Regions from separate parts of the Homo sapiens genome. Here regions 1, 2, 3, 4, 5 and 7 are each linked to region 6. Evidence: promoter capture Hi-C in 16 types of primary human blood cells and fetal thymus (Javierre and others, 2016). All regions are on one chromosome and are shown on one strand. The core of a region is centred on a gene start or on the middle of the fragment in contact, and the rest is flanking DNA. Distances in the headings are between cores, read along the strand shown.

The links. The method cuts DNA at HindIII sites, captures the fragments that hold promoters and counts their contacts. A CHiCAGO score of 5 or more calls a contact.
Region 1: a fragment that was not itself captured here is called in contact with the fragment with the promoter of GSAP in region 6 in 1 of 17 cell types (total B cells); the score reaches 5.1 in total B cells.
Region 2: a fragment that was not itself captured here is called in contact with the fragment with the promoter of GSAP in region 6 in 12 of 17 cell types (monocytes, neutrophils, M2 macrophages and 9 more); the score reaches 13.9 in monocytes.
Region 3: a contact is called between a fragment that was not itself captured here and the fragment with the promoter of GSAP in region 6, in 1 of 17 cell types (neutrophils). The highest score is 7.4, in neutrophils.
Region 4: a contact is called between a fragment that was not itself captured here and the fragment with the promoter of GSAP in region 6, in 1 of 17 cell types (total B cells). The highest score is 6.6, in total B cells.
Region 5: a contact is called between a fragment that was not itself captured here and the fragment with the promoter of GSAP in region 6, in 6 of 17 cell types (total B cells, neutrophils, monocytes and 3 more). The highest score is 7.9, in total B cells.
Region 7: a fragment that was not itself captured here is called in contact with the fragment with the promoter of GSAP in region 6 in 1 of 17 cell types (total B cells); the score reaches 5.3 in total B cells.

What each region holds. Positions count from the first base shown.
Region 1 is chr7:77,820,363-77,823,412 of GRCh38, forward strand. The region is part of intron 1 of PHTF2 (putative homeodomain transcription factor 2); the gene reads left to right. Among named protein-coding and RNA genes, the nearest start is that of PHTF2, 23 kb to the left of the region's middle. The HindIII fragment of the contact is 7,723 bases long and covers 1-3,050 here.
Region 2 is chr7:77,736,889-77,739,915 of GRCh38, forward strand. The region is part of intron 2 of RSBN1L (round spermatid basic protein 1 like); the gene reads left to right. Among named protein-coding and RNA genes, the nearest start is that of RSBN1L, 42 kb to the left of the region's middle. The HindIII fragment of the contact is 3,463 bases long and covers 1-3,027 here.
Region 3 is chr7:77,718,010-77,721,265 of GRCh38, forward strand. The region is part of intron 1 of RSBN1L (round spermatid basic protein 1 like); the gene reads left to right. Among named protein-coding and RNA genes, the nearest start is that of RSBN1L, 23 kb to the left of the region's middle. The HindIII fragment of the contact is 6,731 bases long and covers 1-3,256 here.
Region 4 is chr7:77,842,753-77,846,082 of GRCh38, forward strand. All of the region lies in intron 2 of PHTF2 (putative homeodomain transcription factor 2), which reads left to right. Among named protein-coding and RNA genes, the nearest start is that of PHTF2, 46 kb to the left of the region's middle. The HindIII fragment of the contact is 2,758 bases long and covers 391-3,148 here.
Region 5 is chr7:77,701,405-77,704,377 of GRCh38, forward strand. The region is part of intron 1 of RSBN1L (round spermatid basic protein 1 like); the gene reads left to right. Among named protein-coding and RNA genes, the nearest start is that of RSBN1L, 6.4 kb to the left of the region's middle. The HindIII fragment of the contact is 9,574 bases long and covers 1-2,973 here.
Region 6 is chr7:77,415,001-77,418,167 of GRCh38, forward strand. GSAP (gamma-secretase activating protein) reads right to left here and starts at 1,349. Exons shown (of 31, transcript NM_017439.4): 1 at 1,213-1,349. The coding sequence starts at 1,321. It overlaps LOC101927243 (a long non-coding RNA gene), which reads left to right and starts at 198. Exons shown (of 5, transcript NR_110073.1): 1 at 198-348. RefSeq lists silencers at 515-804, 865-1,074, 1,295-1,644. The HindIII fragment of the contact is 1,753 bases long and covers 798-2,550 here.
Region 7 is chr7:77,864,371-77,867,820 of GRCh38, forward strand. All of the region lies in intron 2 of PHTF2 (putative homeodomain transcription factor 2), which reads left to right. Among named protein-coding and RNA genes, the nearest start is that of PHTF2, 67 kb to the left of the region's middle. The HindIII fragment of the contact is 7,462 bases long and covers 1-3,450 here.

The DNA.
Region 1 (3,050 bases), core at 500-2,999, 410 kb after region 6:
TTGTTTTTTTAGACAGGGTCTCACTGTCTCCCAGGCCAGAGTGCACAGGCGTGATCATAGCTCACTGTAACCTCAAACTTCTGGGTTCAAGCAATCCTCCTGCTCCAGCCTTCTGAGTGGCTAGGACTATAGGTGTGCACCACCATTCCCAGCTAATGTGTGTGTGTGCGTGTGTGTGTGTTTGTGTATACGTATATTAGAGATAGAGTTTTGCTTTGTTGCCCAGGCTGGTCTTGAACTCCTGGAATCAAGTGATCCTTCCTCCCCAGTCTCCCAAAGCAGTGGGATTACAAGCATGAGCCACTGCACTCATCCCAAGTTGTTCATAGTTCAGCATTTCTGTGGTATCTGTTGAAAAGTCTCCTTTTTGATTAAATGGGGAATTTAATCCGTTTACATTCAAGGTGATTATTGATAAGTGAGGCCTTCTCCTGTCATTTTATTGATTGTTTTCTTCTTGTTTTCTATTTCCTTTTTTCCTCTCTTATTGTTTATTTTTGTGGTTGGGTAGTTTTCTGTAATAAGATTTGGTTCTTTTCTCTTTCTTCTTTATCAACTCTACTGGTGAGTTTTATAGTTTCACATGTTTTTATGATGGTGGTTATCATCCTTTTACTTCCAACTGTGAGACTCCCTTGAGCATTTCTTATAAGGCTGGCTTAGTGGTGATGAATTTACTGAGTTTTTGCCTGTCTATGAAAGGTTTTATTTCTCCTTCATTTCTGAAAGATAGCTTTGCTGGATATAATATTCTTGGATGGCAGTTTTTTTTTTTTCTTTTCAATATTTTGAATATATCATCTCATTCTCTGCTGGCCTGTAAGGCTTCTACTGAGAAATCTGTTATTAGTCTAATGGGAATTCCATTGTATGTGACTTGATGTTTTCTCTTGGTTTTAGAATTTCTTTGTGTTTGTCTTTTGACAATTTGAATATATTTTGCCTTGGAGAGGATCTATTTGGGTTGCGTCTATTTGAGGTTCATTGAGCTTCCCGGACCTAGATGTCCATCTCTCTCCCAATATTTGGGAAATTTGCAGCTGTTATTTCATTAAATATGTTTCCTTACCTTTTCCCTTCTCTTCTGCTTGGCTGGCCTGTGGATGTATGTATCTGCTGTAGATGGCCCGTGGGGCTGTTTCTCAGGTTTGGGACATGGGTACAAGGCTGCTCGGGGAGCTCAGGAGTGTGTCCACCATAGATGGCCCTCAGAGCTGTTTCTCAGGCCCTTGACATGGCTTCACAACTTCTTGGCTGGTGTGGGACATGCCCCACATGGAGCTGTTTATAGGCCCAGGAGCAGGCACAGGGCTGCTCAGCCAGCCTGGGAATGAATCTGTCTACCGGGGGGGCCCACAGGACTTTCTCAGGTTTGGGATGCAGATGCAAGGCTGCTTGGCTGGCTCAGGGGTGTGGCTCAGGAGTGAGCCCTCCATAGGCCCACAAGTGATATGTTTGCTAGAGGTGGCCCACAGGGATGTTACTCAGGTCCAGTCATGGGCTCATGGCTGCTTGGATGGGCTGAGGGTATGCCTACCAGGAGCAGCCTGCTGTGCCCAGGGACAGGACTGTTTCTTAGACCTTGATTGCAGGTGGAGAGCTGAGGGCATGTCTGCAGTGGGGGAGTGCTGTAGGGCTGTGTCTCAGGACCTGAGTGCAGATGTGTAGCCTCTCTGCCAGCCCGAGGGATGTATCAGCTGCTTAGAGACGTGGGGGGCACTCTTCCACTTGGAGGGCATATAGCAGTTTTCTCTGGCTCAAGGGCAGGTTTGCCTTAGGTGGGAGTGCCAGACTGTTCCTCTGACTGGAAGTGTGGCAGTGGCAGCAGAGTGTTGGGGAGCAGAGGGGAAGGGAGGTTGGTTTCCCTGCTGTGCAGGACTGGAGTCACAGCCGATCCTGGGCCCAGGCTTTGCATAGTTGGGGTTGTGGTTTTCAGCCACCCATGTGAGTGTGATGGAATGAAGATGGAGCCCCAGTGCTAGAGAAGTTCACTGGCTACTAACCTCCAGAGCAGGGTGCACTCCAGAGGTGGCTCTGGTCTCAAGATGGCACCATGCTGCAGCAGCTTTTCTCACAGGGAGTGGTTGGGTGGGGGAGGGGAGTGTGCACCCTGTGCTCCTAATCTGGGGCAGCGCAGCTGCATGAATTCCTGGCAGCTCTCCAGACTGGGCTTGGGGCTTGCAAGGACTGTGGGATTCTCCTGTAGTAAGGATTGTAGGTGTTTGCAGTGGCAGTGGGGGCTGGTAGGGATCTTCTGCTTACCTTTTCCCTGAAATGGGAAGTCCCTCCTGACTCTGGGCTGATCCAGTCTGGGTTGGGGAGACAGGGCTGCAGTGGCCAGGTACTTCCATGCTGCCCTCCAATCTCATCACGTGCATCTCCAGTTTCTCGCTGCACCCTAGTACTCTCCCATTGACACTCAAGCTGAATCTTAGCTGTTTATGTGATGCCTAGGTTCTTTCTTATTGGGGGGATGAGTGCTGGGTGTCTCTAGTCAGTCATCTTATTGATGTCACCCTCTGAAATTAAAAATATTTAAATCTTTTTTTTTTTTTTTTTTGAGACGGAGTCTCGCTCTGTCGCCCAGGCTGGAGTGCAGTGGCGCGATCTCGGCTCACCGCAAGCTCCGCCTCCCGGGTTCACGCCATTCTCCTGCCTCAGCCTCCCGAGTAGCTGGGACTACAGGCGCCCGCTACCACGCCCGGCTAATTTTTTCTATTTTTAGTAGAGACGGGGTTTCACCGTGTTAGCCAGGATGGTCTCAATCTCCTGACCTCGTGATCCACCCGCCTCGGCCTCCCAAAGTGCTGGGATTACAGGCGTGAGCCACCGCGCCCGGCCAAATATTTAAATCTTAAATTACTCTCTTTTTTTTTGGAGACGGAGTCTCGCTCTGTCGCCAGGCTGGAGTGCAGTAGCATGATCTTGGCTCTCTGCAACCTCTGCCTCCCGGGTTCAAGGGATTCTTCTGCCTCAGCCTCCCGAGTAGTTGGGACTACAGGCACACGCCACCACACCCAGCTAATTTTTGTATTTTTAGTAGAGATAGG
Region 2 (3,027 bases), core at 338-2,837, 320 kb after region 6:
GAAGTAAGTGATCTTCTTAAAAATATTTGACTGTCATCACCATACCATAGTCTAGCATTTAGAGGGAACATTTTACTCTGAGCTAAATCAGAAGCGGTATGTTTCTTGTATGTTTAAGAATATCCTTGTTTTATTCTTTTTTTTCTCTGTTACAGTTGCATTCATTTGCTGTTTATATATGAGGGTGGGGTGGAGAGAAGAATTTGGGGGGTAGGTGGTTGGGTAATAAGTATACTGCAAATCCTGTCAATAAGTCTGAACTTGTAAAGAGAGAATTTGTGGTAGAATAGACGTAAGGATAGTCTTAAATTCACTCAGATGTCAAGGTAAGAAGAATCCGTGGCATTCGGTTGCTAGACAACTAGCGAATTCACTAGCTAGCAAATTTACTAGTGCTATCATGTTGATAGTTGATGATGAGAATATGTTGACCTTGATTAACTTCATATTGAATTTAATTGTTGATAAGGCTTTATATTTGCTTGAGGGGGAAAGACCACGACACTGCATATGTAGCAAAATAACTGGTAGTTTATATTATCTAAGATAAAGAGTATTAGATTCTGTATTTTCATTGCATTCTTTGTCATGTTTTCAGATATTCGTTTTCTATTATCTACATGTCAGAACTTCATTTTCTACGATATTCTTTCAACCTTGAAGAAATACGTCAGAGCTTAAGTTGATGGCTGCTTATTAGTTAATGCTCATGATCCTTTTGTTCTGTTTCTTTTGCCTGCATATTCTATCTGTGTTGTCTAATTAGATTGTAAGCCTTTGAGGCAGGAATTGAATATAACCACACTAGTTATTTATAGCAGCTAGTGATGAATGCTTGAAAAGTCTGCTTAAGGCCAGGTTCGGTCGCTCATGCCTGTAATCCCAGCAATTTGGGAGGCCGAGGCGGGTGGATCACTTGAGGTCAGGAGTTTGAGACCAGCCTGGCCGATGTGGTGAAACCTCGTCTCTACTAAAAATGAAAAATTAGTGGGGCATGATGGTGGACATCTGTAATCCCAGCTACTGGGGAGGCTGAGGCATGAGAATTGCCTGAACCCGGGAGACAAGAGGTTGCAGTGAGCTGAGATCACCCCACTGTACTCCAGCCTGGGCAATAGAGTGAGATTCAGTCTCAAAAAAAAAAAAAGAAAAGAAAAAGTCAAGTCTACTTAACTTTACCCTTGGTTTAGCCCAATAGCCATTTTTTTTTCTGATTTAATCAAATAGTTTTCTTATTCATTTGAAAATATCATGCTGTAAATTCTATTACTTGAGAAGGAATCTGTTTTAGAAATACTTTATAAAAGCCTCATATGTTCTTGATTGAATACTGGATTCCTAACATAATGTGAATTATGTGAATCCAGAGATTACACATGAAAATAAAATTTAAAACAGCCTAAAAATTGAGATTTTTAAAAAATGAAATATACGATATTAACTTTGAAGTAGACAAAAATTTAGGTGATATTTTGAACCGAGTTAAACTGAAACTAGTGATGATTAAGGTAAAAGAATGAGATAGATGTGGAAATTAATTTGTGACTTCTGGGATGTCCATGGAAAAATTTAGGGAAAATGTATTCACAGTGGAGGTAAGTAATAATTTAATTACTGCCTTACAGTGTTACCAAGATTAAATGAGGGAAAGTATGAGGAAAGTGCCAAGTATAGAATCTGGCTCACAGGTACTTACTACTGAGTAGTAAATAGTTATGAAATCTTTCTTGTAAGTATGTATGAGAGATTAACTTTGTGATTAAAAAGCAACAAAATTGGCCAGGCACAGTGGCTGAAGCCTGTAATCCCAGCATTTTGGGAGGCCGAGGCAGGTGGATCACCTGAGGTCAAGAGTTCAAGACCAGCCTGGCCAAGTTGGTGAAACCCCATCTCTACTAAAAAATACAAAAAATTACGGTGGGTGCCTGTAATCCCAGCAACTCGGGAGGCTGAGGCATGTGAATCGCTTGAACCCAGGAGGCGGAGGTTGCGGTGAGCCAAGATGGTGCCACTGCACTCCAGCCTGGGCAACAGAGAGAGACTCCATCTCAAAAAAACAAAAAACAAAAAACACCAATAAAACCAAACTATCTCCTCTCCTCAGTGTGTAGTACATAGATAATTAAGTGAATAAACACATGATTCATTGGGAAAACAGTGCTTGTCGCATTGAAAGCACTGAGTGTTATCTGTTGTTACTATCTACGAGAAAGAATTTGCTTAGTATGTGGGGCCATTTCCCAAGTGAGCCTGTGGTGGTGGTAGGGAAAGGCATCTTTTGTTGTTGGTGACTTGGAACAACAAATCATTTACTTTGCTGAGGGAAAATATACTTTCATTTACTACTGTGTGCCACTTTTTTCCTTGTGGCCTCCAACTTTTATTCTATCCTTGTAATTTTTTTCTTCTGTTAATGATAATGTTGCAAGCTGTGGTATACACAGGTGTTGATGGATGATGGCATTTGAAAATCTAAAATAGATGTCAAGTATGTCACACCAATTCATTTTCTCCAGGTTTTTCTTAAAAATTGTGTCAGGTAGGCTGGGCGCAGTGTCTCACGCCTGTAATCCCAGCACTTTGGGAGGCCAAGGCGGGTGGGCCACTTGAAGCTAGGAGTTTGAGACCAGCTTGGCCAACCTGGTGAAACCCCATCTCTACTAAAAATAGAAAAATTAGCCGGGCGTGGTGGCGCTCGTCTGTAATCCCAGCTACTCGTGAGGCTGAGGCAGGAGAATTGCTTGAACCCAGGAGGCAAAGGCTGCAGCCGAGATTGTGCCACTGCACTCCAGCCTGGGTGACAGAGCAAGACTTGGTCTCAGGAAAAAAAAAAAAAAAAAAAAAATGTGTCTTTTTTTTTTTTTTTTTTTTTTTTTTTTTGAGAGGAGTCTTGCTCTGTCATCCAGGCTGGAGTGCAGTGGCGCGATCTCGGCTCACTGCAAACTCTGCCTCCTGGGTTCAAGCAGTTTTCCTGCCCCAGCCTCCTGAGTAGCTGGGATTACAGCCGCACGCCGCCATGCCTAGGGC
Region 3 (3,256 bases), core at 263-2,762, 300 kb after region 6:
CTGTGTCTCAGAAAAGAAAGGGAGAAGAGATGTAGGAGAGGAGATATTTGAGAGAAACTTTGAAAGGGCAGTATGGTAGGATTTCAGCAAAGAGATAAAGGAGTTGTGGGGAGAGAGAACATTATATGAACTAATATTCATGGCAGCTAGATAGGAAAAGCGAGCTCTACAATGTCACAGAAGTTATGGGAGGAAATAATTTCAAGGCGTTTGATTGTGTTTATAGCTCTGACATTATATATTAAGCCTTTTTTCTTTTAGCCCTTCACTTCTTGATTTTAATATATCAGTGTATTTTGTTTTATGTTTTTTGAGACTGAGTCTCACTGTTGCCTAGGCTGGTAGGCACTGGTGCAATCACGGCTTCAACTTCTGGGCTCAGTTGATCCTCCCACCTCAGTCTCCTGAGTAACTGGGACTACAAGTGCACGACCACACCTGGCTAATTTTTTTGTATTTTTTATAGAGATGAGGTTTTATCATGTTTGCCAGGCTGGTCTCAAACTCCTGGGTTCAAGCAATCTGCCTGCCCCGGCCTCTCAAAGTGCTAGATTACAGGTGTGAGCCACCGCACCTGGCCCATCAGTGTATTTTGTAAGACAGTTTTCTACTTTAACATTTTTCTAGAGTCAGTGCATGTCTTGTATATACTTAAACAAAACAACTTTTTCATTATCTATAATAAGACTTTGTGAAGGCTGAATTATCTCTTAATGCATAACAAACTGCCCTAAAATTTTGTGGTTTGAAACAATAACCATTTTATTATATCAGATGATTTTGTGAATCACAAATTCTGGCATGATTGGCTGGGTGATTTCCTCTGCTTCACGCAGTGTTGACTGGAGTTGCTCATTGGTGTTGAGTTGGTGGCTGGTCTGGTATGGAAGGTCCAAGATGACTTTACTCACGTGCCTGTTGCTGTGTTATGTATGGCTAGATACTGAACTGAGTGAACCCTTCTCTTTCTCCAAGTTGTTTCAGGACCATTCCACATGGTCTGTTAATTAGGAAGTTGGATTTCTTACGTGGCAGCTCAGGACTCCAAGAGTCTTGACACCCAGCGACATAGGTGGAAACAGCAAGTCTTCTTATGACTTAGCTTTGGAAGTCTGAACCAATTTCTCACTGCACATACATTAGGGCACATAATGTATGTGTGTTTTGGAAAATTTCACTTGGAGCACATTCCAATTGAATTAAGATTGATAAAGCATCTGTAGGTGTGTATCTAATGATGTTAGCTAAATATACAACTTTTAAAAAATGTAGAACTTTAATTGGTTGTGTGAAAAAGTGTAACTAAGAGTATATAACAAGTACAACGAGAGTCTGGTTCCCATAGTTACATATGCCCACACATATTGTTATCATTAAGAACTATGTATATGATTTACCATTTGCATTACAGAGTATAATTTAAATTGTAATAAATAATGTAATTGTATAATGTGGACTTAGAGGTCTAAGAATGCCCCAGGTTGTATATATGTGAAACAATCACGTTTGATATAGTAGCTATAGACACACGATTCAGTGATTTAAAGTGATTTAATTCTGTAACCAGATACCACCTACAATATCTTAGTACTTCATATCTTGGTTTTATAATATGTTGAGAACAGACGAAATGCTTTTATTTCTGCTCTGGAGACCAATCTTTTCTGATAGTTTAGTGAGGAAAACCTGAGCTAAAATTTTTCACAGGCCACTTTATCATGTTATGCCTGGCATGGTTTTTATGTATATATGTATTTAAAAAAATTTTTTTTAGAGACAAGGTCTCACTCTGTTGCTCAGGTTGGAGTGCAGTGGTGTGATCATGGCTCACTGCAGCCTCAGACTCCTGGGCTCAAGTGATCCATCTGACTGAGCCTTCTGAGTAGCCAGTACTATAGGTGCGCACCACTGTGCCTGGCTAATTATTGTATTTTCCGTAGAGAAAGGGTCTCGCCATATTGTCCAGGCTGGCCTTGAACTCCTGGCCTCAAGCCATCCTCCCACCTTGTCCTCCAAAGTGCTGGGATTGCAGGTGTGAGCCACTGTTCCCAGCTGTATGTGTCCTTTTTTATTTTCCTCTTACTCTTTGTGTGTTCTTGTGACTATTGTTATTGTAGTATTTTTGTAACTCTTTGTTACTGGGTGCTTTTGTAATAAAATTCTGTTTATATTTAATAATAATAGCTACATTTGTCCAGTGCTTAAAATTAGGTATTGTGCATAGTGTTGGAAATAATGCATATGTTGCCTTGTTATAAAAATTGTAAAAGGCTGGGCGTGGTGGCTCGTGCCTATAATCTTAGCACTTTGGGAGGCCAAGGTGGGTGGATCACCTGAGGTTGGGAGTTCAAGACCAGACTGACCAACATGGAGAAACCCCGGGTCTACTAAAAATACAAAATTAGCTGGGCGTGGTGCTGCATGCCCGTAATCCCAGCTACTCGGGAGGCTGAGGCAGAGAATCGCTTGAACCCGGGAGGCAGAGGTTGCGGTGAGCTGAGATCGTGCCATTGCACTCCAGCCTGGGCAACAAGAGCGAAACTCCGTTAAAAAAAAAATTGCAGAAGACAAGTGTTATTATCTATACAGATGAGATTACTGAGGCACAACACGGTTAAGTAACTTGCTTCATGTCACTTGATCAGTTATTGGCAGAGCTAGAATTTGAGCTTAATATGTATAATTACAAAGCCTGAATTATTTCTATTATATCACAATACATTTGGGGTTTCTTTCTTTTTCATTTTCTTTTTCTTTTTTTTTTTTTTTTTTTTGAGACAGAGTCTCACTCTGTCACCCAGGCTCGAGTGCAGTGGTGTGATCCTGGCTCACTGCAGCATCAGCCTCCCAGGTTCTCATCCCTCAGCCTCCTGAGTAGCTGGAATTACAGGCGTGGGCGACCTTGCCCGGCTACATTTTGTATTTTTAGTAGAGATGGGGTTTCACCATTTTGGTCATATGACCTCAAGTGATCTGCCTGCCTCGGCATGCCAAAGTGCTGGGATTACAGCGGTGAGCCACCGTGCCCAGCCTACTGCTTTTTTTCTTATGTGGATTTAACACTTATTTATGGCCCGCTTTGTGCTTGGGTGGTGGTGGAAGAAAGGGAGATACAAAGAGGAGAACTTTCTGTTTCTTGCCTTGAGATAATTTTTAATTTAATTGGAGAGATAAATAGCTGCAATGTAAAAGACACTGCTCATTGTTGGTAATTTTGTTTTTTTTTTTTCTGTGTATTGCTTTTTTGTCTTCTATG
Region 4 (3,330 bases), core at 520-3,019, 430 kb after region 6:
ACATTCTAAACTAGGATTGGATTGACTGACTTTTTCTTTAAAGGGCCAGATAGTAAATAATTTAGGTTTTGAGTCATAGGTCTCTGCTGCAACCACTCAACCTTGCCTTGCCATTGTAGCACAAAAGCAGCCATAGACACTATATAAAATTAATGAGCATGGCTGTGTTCCAGTAAAACTTAATTTACAAAAGCAGGCAAGGGTCTAGATTTGACCTGTAGGCCTTGATTTGCTGACCCACACTCTAAGACAGCCTTTGTTGAATAACACCATTTTTAAAAATGATATTTCATGTTTTGAAGCATGCCTGCCTTGTTTTTTCTTGGTCATTTTATTGTAGATGTTACTTGTTGACTTCTGACTATATGATTAGGATTTAGCTTTTTTATAAGCTTCCCCTAAGTTTCCCCCCTCTATCATCCCAGTGACTCCAAATTTTGGTAAAATCAGTATTTGGTGCTTACATTATTATGTTTGTGTATGTATCATTTAAAGATATGTTATGTTGTAATATTTCCAATCTGTGTAACTTTTTTTCCCCTTTGCTTGGTTTTACGAATTCTTTTTCTAAGTCTCTGATGAAATTGTAACACTTCTCTTATTGCAGTCAGTCATATTCAGGTTTATCTCTTCCCTTTTTCCTTTCTTGGAACTGACTCTCCTAGAATTCTCTGTTCATCTAGTCCATACTGAATAGATTGTTCTTAAGTCATGTCTCCCGGCTGCCATCTTAGTATTTTCTTTTATCATTAGCCTGAGGGTTCCCCTCACTGGCTTAGGTCACACAGATCTGTTTTTCTCTTAAATATATGCTTACTAAAAAAAATTTTTAGAGGCATTTGTACTTCAGTGAAATGAAGGCAGGAGAACTGCAGCTGTACTTACTGATTATTTAACCACAGGTGAATAACTTTATTTCTTTGAGTCTCAATTTCCACTTTTCTACATTGACTAGCTAATGGTTCTCAGCCTCTTTTCAATCATGGACCCCTTTGTGTTGAAAGCCAAGGATCATATTTTGAGAAAAATGTATACAATATACATATACAGAAAATAACACATCTGTCTTAAAACCCAGGTTAAGAAGTCCTGGATTATATGATTTTTAAAAGTTTTAATATTATAATGTTCTTTGATTTTGTGACTATCATTCAATAGTATCCAGCTTATACTGAGTAGTATCCTTGTAAATAAAAACCAAAAACATTTATCTTCATTTTCTTGAATATTTGTTTGGTTAGTAACTCACTTCTTTTTATTTTTGAGGGAGGGTCTCACTTTGTCACCCAGGCTGAAGTGCAGTGGTGTGAACACGGCTCACTGCAGCCTCGACCTCCTGGGCTCAAACGATCCTCCTGCCTCAGCCCCCCAAGTAGCTGGAACTACAGGCTCATGCCACCACACCCACCTAACTTTTGTATTTTTTTGACGGGATTTCACCATGTTTCCCAGGCTGGTCTCAAACTTCTGGCCTCAAGCGATCCTCCTGCCTTGGACTCCCGAAGTGCTGGGATTGCAGGCCTGAGCCACTGTGCCCAACCATAACTCACTTTAGAGTCACCTTTCTCCACTAGAAAATTGTGACGTTTTTATATTTATGATTTGAATACTGAATGGCCAAAAACCATCACTTGATTTGTAGACTCTTTTGAACATGAGCTCTAATATCAGATGTGAAATTTCCAGGAGAAAATGAAAACAAACTTTGAAATTATTATAAATGCGTACAGAAATTCTACTTAATTATCAAGTATTTTTGAATAAGTTATTCTTTTGTTTTGTTTTTTTGTTGAGACAGAGTTTCACTCTTTCACCCTGGCTGGAGTCAGTGGTACGATCTTGGCTCACAGCAACCTCTGCCTCTTGGGTTCAAGCAATTCTCCTGCCTCAGCCTCCCCAGTAGCTGGGATTACAGGCAGGTGCTACTACGGCCAGCTAATTTTTGTATTTTTAGTAGTGATGAGGTTTTGCTGTGTTGGCCAGGCTGGTCTCGAAATCTTGACCTCATGCGATTTGCCCACCGTAGCCTCCTAAAGTGCTGGGATTACAGGCATGAGCCATTGCACCCGGCCTAAATAAATTATTCTATGCATGGTTTATTTTGACATTTTAAAAGTCCTTTAATATCCAATTTTAAACTTCATTTTATCCTATTGTAGCCTTCATAGTTATGAATAATTTTAAAATTCCTGTTGGTCCAGAGTAATTTTCAGTTATTAACTTGGAGGAACTGTTAATGCAACAAGAATGACAACAGGGGAGAAACCAGAATAGTTTTTAGTTAATAATGAGCTGTTGAATGTGTTTTGTGGCAAAATACTCTGCTTTCATATATCTAGTTTCTCATTTCCAAGGAGAGGGAATGGAGTTACTTATCTTTTGGAAGTTATTTGAAATAGGGACCTGAAATTACATGTATTGAAAGATAATTGACACACTAAGTATTCCTTTAAACAATATAGTGACCTGTAAGATTCCACTGTGACTGTGCAGATAAAATTATGAGAGAATGAGGTTCTATTTTCACTAGGTAAATATATAAGAGAAGAGTGGCTTAGAAAAACTCCCCAAATTTAAAAGGGAAAAAAAGCACTGGCAACATTGTATAGTCATAGTAAAACAGTGAATTTAGCTTATAGGGCTGAGGAAGAACTGTATGATACAGATCTTGGTCATTGTCTTTAAGGAGTCAGTTGCCAATGAGAAAACTAATGAATATGTTTAATGGCCTTTAAATATGAGCCAGCTTTGGGATTCATTTAGTAATTTAAATGAGAAACTAGCCTGAGTAACATGAACTTGACTGGTAACTGCTATCAATTGTAAATAGTTGGGAACTTTAAATTTTCCACCTTTTTGGTAAAGTTCAGCCATGTTAATGTGTGTGTGGGCATGCACACGTGTGTGTGTGTATGTGTGTGTACTTAAGTATGTGTAGGGCATTTCAGAGTACTAACTTGCCTAAGATTGCACAGATGGCTCAAAAGTATTAAGTCTCAGCTTTCAACTCCAAAACCATGTGCAGTCATTTAATATTATCCTTCCTCCATCAGTCTCCTGGATTCTTTCGCAGGTAAGACAAATCTAACTCAAACTATCTTAAAGGGGAAATTTATTGGCTTTCAAGCTAAACCGTGCTGAGTAGTGAAGCTTTTCTCAGGGTTTACTTAATCCCAAGACCAGAGCACCATCAGATGTGTCCGTCTGCCTCTTTTTTTCCTATTGCTTTTCTAGAGTTGGCTTATTCCTTCCCATCACAGATGCCTTTCTCCATGTTGTGAGAATAAGCCCCAAGGTCCCTCCATACCCCTTCTCTTTTAGCTCCTTGAG
Region 5 (2,973 bases), core at 343-2,842, 290 kb after region 6:
CCTTTTACTTGACTGGCAGTTAAGAGATTTCTGCATTGGAAATAATTTTCCCTCAAAAGTTTGAAGGTGGTGTTCCCTTATTGCCTGGTTCCCAAAGTAGATGTTAAGACGTCTGATCTCCAAAAAGTTGTCTATTCTACTATCTGGGGAATGTCAATCCTTTCACTGAATTTTATAATTTATATATTTTTTTCTTTGGTGTTTTTCTTCACATCTCACTCTTCCTTCTGAACTTTCACTGAATTTTACTTTTTTTTTTTTTTTTGAGATGGAGTCTTGCTCTGTTGCCTAGGCTGGAGTGCAGTGGCATGATCTTGGCTCACTGCAGTCTCTGCCTCCTGGGTTCAAGCAATTCTCCTGCCTCAGCCTCCCAAGTAGCTGGTATTACAGGTGTGCGCCACCACGCCCAGCTAATTTTTTGTATTTTTAGTAGAGATGGGGTTCCTCCATGTTGGCCGGGATGGTCTGGAACTCCTGGCCTCAGATGGTCTGTCTGCCTTGGCCTCCCAAAGTGCTGGGGTTATAGGCGTGAGCCACCGTGGCTGGCCTTGACTGAATTTTAAAGTTTTAGCTTTTGTTTTTTTGAGACGGTCTTGTACTGTCGCCCAGGCTGGAGTGCAATGCAGTTTTGGCTCCCTGCAACCTCTGCCTCCCAGGTTCGCATGATTCTCCTGCCTCAGCCTCCTGAGTAGCTGGGACTACAGGCGCACACCACCACACCCAGCTAATTTTTTGTATTTTTGAGTAGAGATAGGGTTTCACTGTGTTGGCCAGGCTGGTCTCCAACTCCTGACCTCATGATCCACCCGCCTTGGCCTCCCAAAGTGCTGGTATTACAGGTGTGAGCCACTGCGCCTGGAAAAGTTTAAGCCTTTAATAAGAATTTTTAAGAGCTCCTGTCCTTTGTTTCAGTATTATAGTATTTTGTTCCTTTTTCATGGGTGCAACGTTTTCTGTTTCCTCTTCAAGGATATTAATTACAGCTTCTTTGAGGTGTTCTTCTGTTCTCCCTATTATTTTTGGTTTTTCTTACTTATTTCTGTTTGTTTTGGTTGCTTTCTTTTAGTTGGAGGTTTTGTTCAGATCTTTGTGATCATGAGCAAGGTTAATGACTAATGGACTGCTGTGTTTTTAATCTTCATTTCTTTTCTCTGGGTGGTGGGCAAGAAGGCTTTCAGTTTCTTCAGATAGATGTCCTTTAATTTTCCTGTCTCTTTGTGGGTGGAATGATGGAGAGAGGAGGGGTGTCTTAGTCACTCGGGCTGCTATAATAAAATACCATAGAATGGGTGACTTAACAGAAATTAATTTTTTTATAATTCTGGTGGCTGGAAGCGTGAGGTCAGCATGCCATCATGGCCAGGTTCTGGTAAGGGCTCTTTTCCTGGTCTGTAGGTGACTGCCTTCTTCCTGTGTGCTCACATGACTTTTCCTATAATGGAAAGAAAAATCTCTTCCTTTTCTCTTTATAAAGCTACCAATTTTATTGGATTGGGACTGTGCCCTTTGACCTCATTTAATCTTAGTTACCTCCGAAAAGCCTTATTTTCAGATACAGTCACATTGGGCATTAAGGCTTCAACATATGGATTTTGGGGAGGCATGATTCAGTCCATAGTGAAGGGCTTGGCAGAGGTAATGAGTTTGTATGACAGGGTTCTAGCGCTTCATGGGGGAAGAAAGCTACAAGTCTTGTCATTCATTTCATAAGTTTTTACCTAGTCTCCCTGTTTTCATACCAGCATTTCACTTCTCTTTTCTGTGAGGGATACCCCTCATCTTGGAGCCACTCTGATTCAGTTTTACTGAGGACCATACCTCTTGTTTCCTTAGGAGTGTGTGTTTGTGGGTATTCTGCCCTATTTCCTAGCGCCCTCTGATTTCTGAGCTTTTCTGGGGTATTGCAGGATAAAGAGGATTGTTTGTCATTATCTCTCCCATTATGCTAAGGCATTTACCATTCTACCATCAGCTTTTTGTCTTTATACATTGTATTTCAGGTAATAGTTACAGTATCTCCTAGTTATGTCAGACGTGGAGTGTGTGTGTGTCTCTTTTTTCCTACTGTTTGGGTTTTTTTTTTTTTTTTTTTTTTTTTTTTTTGAGAAGGACTCTCACTATTTCACCCAGGCTGGAGTGCAGTGGCACAATCTTGCTCATTGCAACCTCTGCCTCCCAAGTTCAAGCGATTCTCCTGCCTCAGCCTCCCAAGTAGCTGGAACTACAGGTGCCCACCAACATGCCCAGCTAATTTTTGTATTTTTGTAGAGAAGGGGTTTCACTATGTTGGCCAGGCTGGTCTCGAACTCCTAACCTCAGGTGATCTGCCTGCCTCGGCCTCCCAAAGTGCTAGGATTACAGGCGTGAGCCACCGCGCTCGGCCTATTTGGGTATATTTTTAAGAGACAGGAATCTTGCTCTGTTGCCCAGGTTGGAATGCAGTGGCACAATCATAGCTCAATGTAACCTTGAACTCCTGAGCCCAAAGGATTCTCCTGCTTCACCCTCCCCAGTAGCTAGGACTACAGGTGTGCAACCACGCCCCGATACACTTACTCTTTTTGAGCTGATATACATCCGTTATAAAGGGATGATATTTTCACAGGGTGATTGTTAGAATTATGTGAACATGGTATATTGTAGAACCTGGCATATTGTTAGGCATTCATAAGGGATGCTAGTTCCTGACCTTTCTTTCATACCTAACGCATTGGAGACATGTAGTTTCACTGAATTCACAAGTAAGTATAATTTGTCTAATTTTCTCATGGTGTCCTGGTTTCTGAGACCATCTGATATGTTAGAATGAACAATACTAACTTTTTGAAAGAAGTTTGTATTTCAGAAGTTTTAAGTTGATTATAATAAATCTCATTAATTTTTCACCAATCTCAAATGAATTAAACTTTTCAAGTAATGGATAAACTACCTAAAATAGGATATTGAAAAATAATGATAAACTTAAAACTTCAA
Region 6 (3,167 bases), core at 99-2,598:
GAGCGTGTCACCACGCCCAGCTAATTTTTGTATAAAATTCTTCCTTGACCACCCTCTCCACCTCGAAAAAAAGTAAAGCCTTACTAAGCATGACACTAATGCAAACTCAATGCATACGCTACACAAACATATAACTCCTTATTTGGAGCTAATAATATTCCAAGCCAAGGAAACCTACAAATAATTTCGCTATAGTCATAGGAGAGTGTGAAGATACAAGATAGCAACTTGATATATAACTCACATCAAGAAAACTTTCACCAGCGTTTAAGGGAAAGGAGTTGTAGATGTGGGTCATTTAATACCCACTTCCAAATTCACTGAAGTGGACAGCGCCCTACACACAAGGTGAGACCTACAGGCATCATTGCTTTGAAGCTGCATTTAAGCTCTGAAGCTCCAATATTTATAGAAGACTTTTAAAACTTTGTAAGAAATCACAAAGTTCCCCTTCTTTAAAACAGATCAGTGCTGGGAAGGCTCAAAAGTCACTTTCACTCCCTTACCAAATCATCAAAAAGCCCGGAGTGGCAGGGCCGGGAGCCGAGCATCTCGCGCGCAGCCCCAGCCTGCACAGGTGCGGAGCTCGGGGGCGGCTGGGGGCTCTCGCCCCGCCGCGCGCAGCCTGGAGGCGGCCCCTGCCCTCTTGCGCCTCACCGCCGAGGCCCATGTCCCCTGAGCCACGGACACGGTTCAACAGACACATAAACACGTCTCGCAAATGTGGGGACAAACTGTTCCACCGTTAGGTATAGGGTGGTTTGCTTGGTGGTCACGGATTCTTTCTCAAAACGTGAAGCTTCCAGGAGCACTCCTGTCTTGGCAAAGCCCCTGCGCTGCCGATGAACCCCCCGGGAGGTGGGATGCGGCCGCTGAGCTGAGCACGACCCTCTGCCCTCGCCGTGAGGTGATGCTGAGGGAACCGCCAGCGGCCCGGCCCCTCTGCCAAGGGCGAATTTCCGCGGGCCGGCAGCGAGCCAGGCGCCTCAGGCCCCACGGCGACCTGGCCCGGGCTCTGCCCCCAGACCTTCCGCCGTGGCTGGGTGTGGGTGGCAAAGCCAAAACAGCCCTCTGAGGAGGGGAGCGACGCCCTCGCACCAGCCTTCTCAGGGCGGCGACGCCCCGGGTTGCTCCCCACCGGGTCGGAGTCCGGGGGGTATGAGGGACTCCCACTCCCCGCCCCCACCCCTCTCCGCAGCGCGCCTCCCGCACCTGCGCCGCCGCTTCCGGCCCCGCTGGCCTCCGACACTGCCCGCTGCGCCCGCAACCACGGGAGCACGTCCTTCCCGAGGTCGAAGTCGGCGACCAGGCGAAGAGCCATCGCCCGGACACGACCACCGGGCGGCTCTGGGGCCCCGCACCGCGGGCATTCCCGGCCCCGCGTGGCCGCCTCGCCCTCGCGTCCCCGCTCCCGCCCCCTCTTTCCTCTCCCCCGCCCCCTGCTGCTTTCGGTTCTGCAGCGCCCTGGCCTGAGAAGCTCCGGCACCAGCTCCTCCCGGCCGGCGGCCCGCACCTGAGCCGGAGCCGGAGCCGGGCACGGCGGGTAGCGGTGGGGCGGGGTGGACCAGGCGCCAGGACCAGGCCCGCCGGGGCGGGAGGCCTCCGCGCGCACCTTCGGGGCTGAGGATAGAGGGCGCAAAGACGTGGGCGCTTCAGGGCCTTGGCGAGGCCGCTAGCCCAGTGGCTTCCAAACCTGGAGGGTCGGCCTATTTTCTTTATTCTACAAGTGCCTCCACTGTGCAGCAAAGTGTGGAAACCACTTGGCTTGAGAGAGCTGGGTCCTCTGGAGCAGTTCAGGGTCACCACAGAAGTAGGCCGTCTCTTGGGCCTATTCGCCCCAGCTTCGAGGTGGTGGTGCTTTATTAGTGTTATTAAGGTAATGAGTAGCAACTGGGAGCGTATGACGAAGGTGATCCCATTGTAAGAGAAACGCTAAAAGGGGTTAATGCGCTTGATACAAACAGCGTCCTTTTTGCCTTTTAACTCTAGTACATCTCATTTGATGCCTTGAGACATGAAAACTGAATCTTAAGTCTCCACGCAAACCCTCTGCCTCCCACCAGGGTCTAACAGAGCACTCTGGAAGGTGCTCGACAATTACTGAAGAATGAGTGAATACAGTAATAAAGAATGCTTTTTCACATGCTTCCGAAATTAAGGTCTGAAAACTACTTGTATTGACGTCATCTGGGGCACTATTTTACAATGCAGACTCCTGATCTCTACACCTGGACAAGACCAGAAACGTGCATTTTACCCAGAGCCTCGGGTGATTCTTAGGCTTACTAAGTTTGAAAACTACTCCAACCAAATGTAAAAGAAAGTCTTGAATTTTTTTCCCTCCTAGAGACATGTTTCTCCAACTGAGGTAATGGATGATTTCAGGTAGAACTCCATTACTCACCACCATATACAGAGGAAAGTCCTCCCACCCGGGAAGTGCATGCAAATTTAAGATAAATGCCTAATGAAGCTGCTAATATTATCAGTGAATAAAAGGAAGGCCACTGGAGCCCCCAAGGAGCTAATGCAACTATTTCATATCAAATAAGCTTGTTGCCTTTGTCATACAGAAACACTGTTGGCCAATTTTTTAAAGTCAGTACATTTCCATTGTTTTTATTTTTGCAGTTAACTTCTATTTTTGCCAGGCAGGACTGATTTTATAGTCAAGCAGTGATGATATAAAAAATTCTCTTCAAATTAAGTGAAAAAGCCAATGTAAAGAAGGTGAGAAACAATAAGATAATGATAGAAAGATGTGGCCAAAATCATGAGGGTGCTATATGAAGGCATGTGTATCAGTTAGGATTAGATTCTCCAGAAGTTAATAAGAACTCAGATTAACAGTAAATTAAACACACAAGTTTTATTCTGTCACCTAGCTGGACGTAGGCAGAATAAAGCTCTTAGGGCAGGTTCCTGAATTTATCAGGGACCCAGGCTCCTTCCAGTTCTTTGCTCCACCTGATCCTGAGTGTACCCTTGTCCTCATGATCAAAGAGGGCTGCAGAAGCTTCAGCCTTCACGTCTGCATTCCAGAAATCAGAATGGAAGAAGAGGAATAAAAAGAGGATGCTACCTCTCTTTTAAGGATACTTCCCGGAAGTTCTACACAACATTTCTACGTATGTTTCACTCACCAGAATTTAGTCACATGGCCAAAT
Region 7 (3,450 bases), core at 723-3,222, 450 kb after region 6:
ATTTGACCTTGTCACTTATCTTTTTAACACTCGTCAAAGCCTTTCTTTCATATGTGGTATAAACTCTTTGCAAGGCCTATAACGATTTTTCTGGTCTAATTCCAGTTAGCTTTGTAGCCTCATTGCCTACCCCTTTCAGCCTTCAACTTTTCTTACCTTCTAACACCATCCCTCCAAATAAAACTGTTTGAAGTCTTCCCATGCTATTTTTCACCTTAGTGTTTAGACTGCCCACTTATGCTTTTAATTTTTTTTTTTTTTAACTGAAGTTGCTCCTTAAAACTCAAAGCTGGCATCTTCCCCTCACGGATATCTTTCATAATCCCCTGAAAACTGGATTAGGTATCTCCTCCTGCTAGTGCTCCTATGGGAAAGTTGTGTGTGTTCTTTTTGTGGCAGTGGTATAGCGCTTTTTTTTTTTCTTGATTCTTTCTCTTTACAGTTTACAGAGTAATATTGTAGTTACCTAGCATCCTCCAAAGGTCACCACTGTGTTGCTTGTTTGTTTAATTATCATTATGAACTTATGGCTTTAAAGATATTTCATATGTTTCCACCTGTTGGAGTTATTGTCCATAATAATGTCTTTCCCATTGTCAGACAGATTGTTCTGTCTTAATAATAGGAGCTTATTTAGGTTGGCTTCTGAATCTTTTTGACATGACCCTAGTAGTATGATAGTATTCACTGAGGAAAAAAATTTGAAATGGGAGCAATTGTTTCTGCATGGAGACAGGGAAAGCTACAGAGAGATCTTGATCCTCTTTTACCATCCTAGATATAAACATTCTGAGATGTTCCATATAAGCTAAATTCATTCTGCTCCATTTAACAATAATTACCTGGGAATCTCCTCTTTTTTCTTTTTTTTTTTAGACAGAGTCTCGCTCTGTTGCCCAGGCTGGAGTGCAGTGGCACGATCTCAGCTCACTGCAACCTCTGCTTCCCGGGTTCAAGCGATTCTCCTGCCTCAGCCCCCTGAGTAGCTGGGACTACAGGCATGCGTCACCATGCCTGGCTAATTTTTGTATTTTTAGTAGAGACGGGGTTTCACCATGTTAGTCAGGCTTGGTCTCAAACTCCTGACCTCATGTTCCACCCAGCGCAGCCTCCTAAAGTGCTGGCATTATAGATGTGAGCCATGTCACCCAGCCAATCTCTTTTATAATATCAATTATTATTCTACTTCTGTATTACAGTGGTATTTTGTTTATTCTACTGCTTATTACAGCCTGACTTGATAATTAATCTCCCCTGCTAATCCATGAGAGTAAGAATCATTATCTTTATATCGCCATTATTTCAGGGTCTTACTGTATACTTGGTACTTGGTAAATGTTTACTGCTTTGATAACAGTGCTGTCAGGAGACAGTATTTATATTAAACTTCTAATTTATATAGTTTTTTATTCTTAAATTAAGTACCTTTGATGTGCCATGTATCAAGCCAGGCACTTATTTCAAGGGACTTGATTTGAGTTGTCAAATCTGTGAAATAGGCTCTTTATACTGATTATTACATTAAGTATTAGGCTGGGCTCGGTGGCTCATGCCTGTAATCCCAGTACTTTGGGAGGCGAAGGCGGGCAGATCTCTTGAGGTCAGGAGTTCAAGACCAGCCTGGCCAATATGGTGAAACCATGTCTCTACTAAAAATACAAAAATTAGTCAGGCATGGTGGTGCACACCTGTAGTCCCAGCTATTTGGGAGGCCGAGGCAGGAGAATCACTTGAACTTGGGAGGCAGAGGTTGCAGTGAGTCAAGATCACACCACCACACTCCTGCCTGGATGACAGAGCGAGACTACCTCTCCAAAAAAAAAAAAAAAAAAAATTATTAAACGTAATAGTTTATTCTGTAGTAACATTTCCTGAAGTGTGCTCTACATGATGTTAATAAGTATTAGGAGAATAAAAGGATTTTGTAGTCAAATCAGTTTGGGAAATATTGAGTGAGACACAGGCAAACAAGTTATATGATTTCAGGATTTTCCAGTGCAAATAATGTGCAGTTGACTGTCTAAGAGGCAGACAGAGAAAATATCATTTCTCAATTTATTTGACTTAATTTTTTCCCCTGAGTATCTGTTGAACATACTTAGGAAAATACTGGCCTGTGGTTAACAAGTTACGTAAAAGAGTGTGGTGCAGTGGAAAGGGCATGGAATTGGAAGTCAGAAGCTGGGTTTTACCATCTGTAAAACCTGACGTCTCTTAAAGCCTCAATTGTCTCGTCAGTAAAAAAAAAAAGTTAATACTGGTCTGTACAGCATAAGATTGTTCTCTTTAATGGTCTCTTATTTGATTTCAAATGAATGAATAGCAATAATATGTTAGGTATTTTTAAAATAAGTAACCAAGTTATGTTAATATTTTTGGCATTTAAATTGCCTTAAAATATGACATAGCTTTTCTTGTTATAGTAAACTATTAGAAATATGTAAACAAGGATGGTGCTGTAGCCTTGATTTATATTTTGTACACATGATTTAGTCAGGGTTATGTTTTAGAATGATAAACCAGAGTATATGCTATGATGAGTAGTAAAAGAATGCAAATAGGCATATACATTCTTTCCTTGTCACATGCTGCAATATGAAGGAAAAGGAAGCATTAGGTAATAGCCAGATGACATAATGGTTAATTATTGAGCTTTTGCATGTCTGTTCCTGTTGTTTGCTCCATACATATTAGTACATTTAGTCCTTATAATTACCCTTTGATTAATAATACTAATTATTTTACATGTTGTTAAGGCTAAGTTGGACTTCTTGAAGAGTTTTGTGTATTTTTATTTGCTTTTTAAATAAGCCCTGACAGCTTGCCTGCTGGCAAGATAGCCCACAGAAGGTAATACAGGGAGAAGTATATGACAATGATTAGGGATTAAATGTAACCCTTCCCAGACATCTCTTAGTGATCAGAACCAAGGCAAGTGAACGTAGGGTCGTTTTTGTGGATGGATATTAATGAAATTACTGGTGGGTAAGAGCACAGCTATGGAGCCAGGTTGTCTGTGTTTGAATTCCTGTTTATTGCTACTATTTAACCTTGTACAGCCTAAGTCTTTATACTGTAAACATAGAGATAGCTGTAATACCTACTTAATAGTGCTGTGAGAATTAAATAAGTTAATACGTGGAAGGGGTATCAGCACTTGATAAATGCTGACTACTTATTATTGCTGTTATTGTAATATTGTGAACATTAACTGCCTCAACTGGCATTTGAGGAGTAAAAAGCAGAGACATTAGTATACTTCAGTAACTGTGGTTGGACTTTCTATCCAAGGTGGGGGAAAGGGCGCAGCTAAGGAGTTCTGGTGTATCATAGGAAAAAATTATCTAATAGTAGATAGCAGTTGACAAGAGTATGTGAGAGCTTTCATTTTTTTCTCCTGACATCATCTTAGATTGGGTGATAGACAGTGTAATAAAGTAAATACTTAAT